2 separate regions of the Homo sapiens genome follow, and region 2 is linked to region 1. Evidence: promoter capture Hi-C in human tissues and cell types (Jung and others, 2019). All regions are on one chromosome and are shown on one strand. Each heading gives the region's core, a stretch centred on a gene start or on the middle of the fragment in contact. The rest is flanking DNA. Distances are from core to core; before and after follow the strand shown. Region 1 holds the start of SLITRK1 (SLIT and NTRK like family member 1). Region 2 overlaps LOC105370286 (a long non-coding RNA gene).

Evidence for each region. The method cuts DNA at HindIII sites, captures the fragments that hold promoters and counts their contacts. A contact is called where the count stands out against the background at its distance.
Region 2: a contact is called between a fragment that was not itself captured here and the fragment with the promoter of SLITRK1 in region 1, in 2 of the 25 tissues and cell types used here (dorsolateral prefrontal cortex and lymphoblastoid cells).

What each region holds. Positions count from the first base shown.
Region 1 is chr13:83,880,043-83,883,945 of GRCh38, forward strand. It overlaps SLITRK1 (SLIT and NTRK like family member 1), which reads right to left and starts at 2,432. Exons shown (of 2, transcript NM_001281503.2): 1 at 1,962-2,432; 2 at 1-1,518. The coding sequence starts at 1,465. The HindIII fragment of the contact is 12,657 bases long and covers 1-3,903 here.
Region 2 is chr13:83,752,459-83,756,305 of GRCh38, forward strand. The region is part of intron 3 of LOC105370286 (a long non-coding RNA gene); the gene reads right to left. Among named protein-coding and RNA genes, the nearest start is that of SLITRK1, 130 kb to the right of the region's middle. The HindIII fragment of the contact is 5,057 bases long and covers 1-3,847 here.

The DNA of each region.
Region 1 (3,903 bases), core at 1,182-3,681:
CCACAGGCAGGGACCTCAGCAGGTTGTTGTTGAGAATGAGGATCCTCAGTTTGGGCATGGCATTGAAAGTGCCCGGGAGGATGAGCTGGATAGCGTTGTACTCCACGTTCAGGTACTCTAGGTTTTGCAGCCCCGCGAATTTCTCCCGGGACAGCGTGTCCAGGTAATTGCTATCCATGTATAGCCACCTGAGGTCCAAAAGGTTCTTGAAAGTGTTGTTCTCTACAGTAGCGATGTTATTGTTGCCCAGATCCAACAGAATGAGGTTCTTGTAATCCACAAAGTGCGATTTTCGGATGCTGTGGATCTTGTTATCTCGTAGGAAAAGCTCCTGCACGTTAGAGAGCTTGGGCTTCAAATCAGCCAAGCTGCTCACGTTCCTGTTGTTGCAGTTCATCTTTAAACCCGACCCTGGGATGTGGTCGCAGCTGCAGCCCCCAGGGCAGGGTAAACTGTTAGCTAAGGGTTTGTTCCTGGAGCTACCCGTCGCTATCGCTGCTGTGGGTCTGATTTTGATCTGCCAGTTGCCTGGGATCTTTGTACCTCCGTTTGGAGCAGACCCTGGTGTGGCATGATCCTCTTGCCCATTTGTCTTGAAAGGAGTTGGCAGGGGTCCAGGAGCAAAGGTCTCTTCTTGGGCAGGGGGCGCCGGGAGACTAGAATCCACTCGGTTTTTCAAAGGACACAAGTCCTGTTCGGTGGTTTCATTGAGGTCTTTACCCTGCAGTCTGGTGGGGGCTTCGCAGACCACTCGGCCGATCAGGGCATTCTTGGGAATGTTTTCCAGCCATTCTTTCAGGGAGAGCAGATCACAGGTGCAGTCCCAAGGGTTATCCTCTAGCAGGATCTCCGCAATACCAGGGATTTGCTCCAAGACCTCCTCATAGGGCAGCGTTTTCAGCCTGTTACCCCGGAGGTCGAGGTGGGTGATGGGCACATACTGGAACACGTTGGCAGGTAGGGTGCTGATGAGATTGTCATTTAAAATGAGCACCTCCAGCTTGTTCAAGTCCTGGAAGGCCCCCGGGTCTATATCTCGTAATAAATTAAAATCAGCCTGGAGATATTCCAGATCGTCCAGCCCCAGAAAAGTCTGCTTTCGAAAAGACTTGATCTTGTTGTTGTTGATGTGCAGCCTTTTCACCAGCTGCAGCCCCAGAAAAGCCCCCGGAACGATTTCATGCAAGCCATTGTTTTCCATGTGCAAACTAACCGCATTATAAAAGTTAGCGAACTCATTAGGGAAAAGTCGAGTGAGGGAATTGCCATGCAGAAATAAATGGTAAAACTGGGAAGTCGGGGCAGTGAAACGCTGCAGACTTGTGAAGCCCTTTTTTTCACAGTCTACGTGTAGGTCCCCTTCTATCTCATTGCAGGAACAGATCTTCTCTTTGCAAACGTCCCCTGTAACGTTTCCAGCGGCAAAACAAAGAGACGTCTCCAGCAACAGAATCCAAAGCAGCATTTTTAAAGCGAGCAATTCATCCCCGATCTCATCACAAAGTAACAGCGACCATCCTGCTCGCCACAGACACAATTCAAGTTCATTTAGTGCTCCAATGTCCGAAGCCAGGAAAGGAGAAGAAAAGGGTTTGGGGGGGTGGGGGTGGATTCCTTCCTCCCTAACCCCCCCGCACTGCAATAGCCCAGACGCCAGTCAATAATTATATCCACAAACTATCCAGGCACGTAGTGCAAGGCAAGCAAAGAAAAAAAAAAAAAAAAAAAAGTAGGAAAAAAACCCCACTCCCCCACAACACTTTAAAAATAACAGAAAAAGAAGTTAAATATATACATATAAATTAAAAGTACACCCTTACAGAATCTCATCTACTGATCTTCACTGATCAGAAATGAAACAATGCTAGTAATTAGAAGCAAGTGCATGTTAGAGAAACAAGCAGAGGGTTTGCAGCGTAGTACAGGCGCACTGCCTGTGCATGGCTGTGCGTCGGACTGACCTTGCCTCTCTGATACAAAGCAGGGTTTTCCGCGGCTTCTGTTGTTGAGGCTGCTGGTGGAGTTCTTGCTGTGGTTGCGGGTTGCCCAGAAGTCCCCCCGAGGTGCTGTCCAGTTCCCCCGGTGCTGAAATCACGCCCGACCGAAGGACTCACGCTGCCCAGCCAATGGCGCTGGAAAATTTCCGCAATCGCTGCGTTTTGTGGTTGTCCATCCTTTTCCTTTCCTCCCCTTCGGTCCTCTTAAGGCTTTTTTTTTTCTTTTCTGTGCTCTCGCTCTCGCTTACTAGCTCTTCTTTTCCTGTTCTCCTTCTCTTTCTTCTGCTCTTTCGGAATTACGTGGAGGGGGGCGGAGGGCGGGGGGCGAGTTGTCTGAGGGAGGAAGAGAGCGCGAGAATGAGGGGAGGGGGGCGGAGAAGAGAGTTGCTAAGAAGCTCTGCTCGTTCCAGCCTGGTGCACTCTGAAAGATCTGACACCCTCTGCTGATCTGCAGTAGCAAAAATCCATCTGGCTAGGGAATGCTGAAAGAAAAAAAAATCAATCCACGTACAGGGCAAGCGTTAAAAATGTGGGCATAAAAGGCTGACGATCTACATAGATGCTTATTTTAAATGGATTATTTGATTATTTTTGCGTGCTGGAAACTTTACCCTTTCCTTTCCTTAACGAGTTCACAGCCCCCACCAGCTCCACCATTCGGAAAGGAGTGCTTTTAAAACATTTATTTCCCAATGGCTTGAATAAAATTAGTGTCAGGGTGTCAAGCGAACAGCAATTTGAGGTAATTATACTGCACGCCATTTTCATCGGTTCTTTAAATGCATTTCTTCCTTCTCTGCGGCACAGTGTTTTACGCTATTTGATGTCTTTGAAACATTTCTTTTGGTATGTTCAAAGTGGCTTTCGGAACATATATGTTACATAATATCATAATTGAGTATGAATTTTTTTGCAAGGTATATAAATTAGGCATATACTTTTTAAAACTTGCAGAAATTTAGTCAATTTGGTCATTGAGAGTTAGGTTCTTTGATATTTCTTGAATGTTATTTAACTCTGGAGGGTGAAACACAATGCATGCTGAAGTCCTTGATTCCAGTCCCGAAAGCTTTAACTGAGAACCGGAAAAGAAGGGAGAGGGGGCAGGGAAAAATCCCAAGATGATTTGTGAGTGCTGTTAAAAACCCACTGGCAGGCAGGCGCGCGCACACTACACGCACGCACACACACACACACACCCCACTGACAAAGTTTTCACATCAGTTTGAACTAATTTAAATGTTTACAAGTAAATAACCAGTTGCATTTTGAGAGGAGGAGATAGAAATCTCTGGACTCTAAAGCTCAGCGAGAACGCTCTCTGCAGGTAGCCGGCAGCTCCTCTTCGCGCAGATGCTTGTTGGGTCACTGATGCTGGGGAAACACGAAGCTCAGGCTTTTTCCAGTTAAGGAAACAACAGATTCCAAACTCTGAGCTTATAAAAATCCAGTAATATCACCTTCTGGGATGGAAGAAAACGTGAACATGCTGCTTCCGTGAAGCCTCTTTTGCTGACTTTTCCTTTCAGAGTCGACACCTTTTCACATCAATACGTCCTAAAATATTTATAGATCATTTTAGGATTTGAAATTTTTAGGTCTTTTAAATAGAGTTACTGTTTGGCCCTTTCTTCACTCTATGCAGAGAGGATATGTTTACACCACTTGCCTTTTTAATTAGGTCTTTTGCAAGTTGGACAGCTGCAACGAGCTTGCTAATATTTTGTGCAAAAGAGCAAATGTTCAAGGAAGTGTGTATTTTGAGAAAGATGGGGAGTAAAAATTTGGGGGAAAGGACTGGGGTTGGGAAAATTCCCAAGGCTAGGGAAGGTCTTAAAGATGTTTACAAGATTTTTTTTTCTGGGTCAGAATCTAATTTCTAGGTGGGTGGAGAAAATTTCATATC
Region 2 (3,847 bases), core at 326-2,825, 130 kb before region 1:
ATTAAGAGGAAAAGACACAAAATAAAACAAAGGGGCATATACTTACACACGTGCATACACACACGTGCGTGGATTTACTCACATGCTACACAAATTGCATTTCCAATTCGTTATCCGAGGATAGACAATCACAACAGAAATAACTTTTCAACTGTGGCAAAACAGATGTAGCCATATAATCCTTAATAAGGGAACGTAGTTGCCTGTAGCGCAATGCCTAAACAAGGTAGAGTATACTGGGGCCCTAAAAAGGCAACTTGTGCTGTAATTCTAACTTTTTATGCATAGAACTTTGACATTTGTCTTAACTTATCAGTCAATATGCTTTTTTTTCATAAATTTATAGAAGTCTTGAGCTAAATTCTGCATCAGCAAAGCCACATATTCTTCTAGAATGAGAAATCACAGTTAGTGCCTAAATGACTGAAAAAAACTCTGCATTTTGCTTTCTCAATAAATGACTTTCTTTCTACAGTAGCACAACTATATTTCAAAGTTCTGATGAAACAAACAACCTGAAATTTAGCCATAATAAATGCAATGTCTGTGTTTTGACTTAAAACATAATAAAAATATAGAATGAGTGAAGAGGCAGGGGTAATATCTAGCAAGAAAAAAATTAACTCAGATATATATGATTTTATTTTAATGTTTCCTAGTTCACTGTGCCTCTAAAATAGTAAACACCCTCAAGATTTAAGCCTAAATAAATAAATTTAGGGTCCAGCTAAGGAAGCTTATCTGTGAAACCCTTGTAATCCCAGCACTGCACTTTAGAGTTATTACAAACTAGAGTAATGCAAAAAAGCAAATAACATATTACAAGATAAATTGAGTAATATAGTTTGAACAAGTAAATATTTCTAACCATCTTCAAATACTTCATTGGCATCCAGGTAGAAGAAAGCAGATTGATTTCATGTGTGAAGGACCAGGACAAATCTTAGGGAAGTTGATATTTAATCAGTCCAAGTAAGGAAATTGATTAGAATTAAAACAATCCATTAATAGGTATAGACTGTGTCACAGTCACAGGGGAAACACAAAGTGGCTTATTCAAATAAAGTTTAGATAAATATCTATGAAAGATTTTGTAGAAGGGATTCAAATGACACAGTTAATTCAGAAAATCATGCTGAAATCTGACCATGAGAACAGTTTATCAAAGGAAGTTCTGAACTCTGAAAAATCTCTAATGTTTTTGTCCAATAGAACAAGTACCCAAGAAATAGACCCACATTAGCCACATGATTAGTATGCTTCACCATCACCTAGCGCATTGATGTCTTGGCCTAATTTGTAAATGTGTACAATATAAACCTTGCATTTAGATAGATACAAGGTCATCTACATTTGTGATTCTGTACCCTAGCTGTCCATTAGAGTCGCCTGAGTTTTTTTTTTTTTTTTAACTCATCAATTCTTAGTCTTCTCTACACCCAGATATTTTTATATAAATGTTTGGAGTAGGTTTTTCCTTTCCTGCATTCAGAGCTGAGAGCCACAGAAGTCATCTAACTTTATTACAATGGGAGTGAATAGCAATCTCATGATGTCAATTATATACAGCTTCAGTATTTCTCAGGAAAGAAAATAACTTTCTCATTTATTCATAAATCAAATAAACAATGAGTCCTTTTGCTAAGTCGAAGAATAAAAGAAAAACAAGATCCCCAGGCAATATGGCCCAACAGCAACAGCTCCGTTCTGCAGCTCCCAGCGAGACCAACACAGAAGGTGGGTGTTTCCTGCATTCCTAACTGAGGTAACCAGTTCATCTCATTGGGACTGGTTAGACAGTGAGTGCAGCCCACGGAGGGCAAGCTGAAGCAGGATAGGGCGTTGCCTTACCTGGGAAGTGCAAGGGGTCAGGGAACTCCCTCCCCTAGCCGAGGGAAGCCGTGAGAAACTGTGCTGTGAGGAACAGTGCACTCCGGCCCAGATACTATGCTTTTCCCACAGTCTTCACAAACCGCAGACCAGAGGATTCCCTTGGGTGCCAATGCCACCAGGGCCCTGGGTTTCAACCACAAAACTGGGCAGCTGTTTAGGCAGACACCAAGCTAGCTGCAGGAGGTTTTTTTTGTACCCCAGTGGCACCTGCAATGCCAATGAGACAGAACCATTCACTCCCCCGGAAACGGGACTGAAGCCAGAGAGCCAAGTGGTCTTGCTCAGTGGATCCGACTCCCATGGAGCCCAGCAAGCTAAGATCCACTGGCTTGAAATTCTCGCTGCTAGCACAGCACTCTGAAGTTGACCTGGGAGTCTTGAACTTGGTGGGGGGAGGGCATCCTCAATTACTGAGGCTTGAGTAGGCAGTTTTTCCCTCACAGTGTTAACAAAGCCACTGGCAAGTTTGGACTGGGTGGGGCCCATCGCAGTGCCCCAAAACTGCTATACCCAGACTACATCTCTAGATTCCTCCTCTCTGGGTGGGGCATCTCTGAAAGAAAGGCAGCAGCCCCAGTTAGGGGCATATAAATAAAATCCCATATCCCTAGGACAGAGCACCTGGGGGAACAGGCAGCTGCGGGCACAACTTCAGCAGACTTCAACATTCCTGCCGGCTCTGAAGAGAGCAGCAGATCTTCCAGCACAGTGCTCAAGCTCTGCTAAGGGACAGACTGCCTCCTCAGGTGGGTCCCTGACCCCTTTGCCTCCTGACTGGGAGACATCTCCCAGCAGGGGTCAACAGACACCTCAAACAAGAGAGCTCCAGCTGGCATCTGGCAGGCGCCCCTCTGGGACAAAGCTTCCAGAGGAAGAAGCAGGCAGCAAACTTTGCTATTCTTCAGTTTCTGCTGGTGATACCCAGGCAAACAAGGTCTGGAGTGGACCTCCAGCAAACTCCAGCAGACCTGCAGAAGAGGGGCCTGACTGTTAGAAGGAAAACTAAAAAACAGAAAGCAGTAGCATCAACCTCAACAAAAACGATGACCACGCAAAAACCCCATTGGAAGGTCACCAACATCAAAGACCAAAGGTAGATAAATCCAGAATGCCTCTTCTCCTCCAAAGGCTCACAACTAGCCAGCAAGGGAACAAAACTGGACAGAGAATGAGTTTGATGAATTGACAGAAGTAGGCTTCAGAAGGTGGGTAATAACAAACTCCTCTGAGCTAAAGAAGCATGTTCTAACCCAAAGCAAGGAAGCTAAGAACCTTGATAAAAGGTTACAGGAACTGCTAACTGGAATAACCAGTTTAGAGAAAAACATCAATGACTTGATGGAGCTGAAAAACACAGCACGAGAACTTCATGAAACTTGCACAAGTATCAATAGTCGAATCAATCAAGCAGAAGAAATGACATCAGAGATTGGAGATCAACTTAATAAAATAAACTGTGAAGACAAGATTAGAGAAAAAAGAATGAAAAGGAGCAAACAAAGCCTCCAAGAAATATGGGACTATGTGAAAAGACCAAACCTACGTTTCATTGATGGACCTGAAAGTGATGGGGAGAATGGAACCAAGTGGGAAAACACACTTCAGGATATTATCCAGGAAAACTTCCCCAATCTAGCAAGACAGGCCAACATTCAAATTCAGGAAATACAGAGAACATCACAAAGATACTCCTCAAGAAGAGCAACCCCAAGACACATAATCATCAGATTCACCAAGGTTGAAGTGAATGAAAAAATGTTAAGCGCAGCCAGAGAGAAAGGTCGAGTTACTCACAAAGCAAAGTCCATCAGACTACTAGTGGATCTCTCTGCAGAAACCCTAAAAGCCAGAAGAGAGTAAGGGCCAGTATTCAACATTCTTACAGAAAAGAAGTTTCAACCCAGAATTTCATACACAGCCAAACTAAGTTTCATAAGTGAAGGAGAAATAAAAT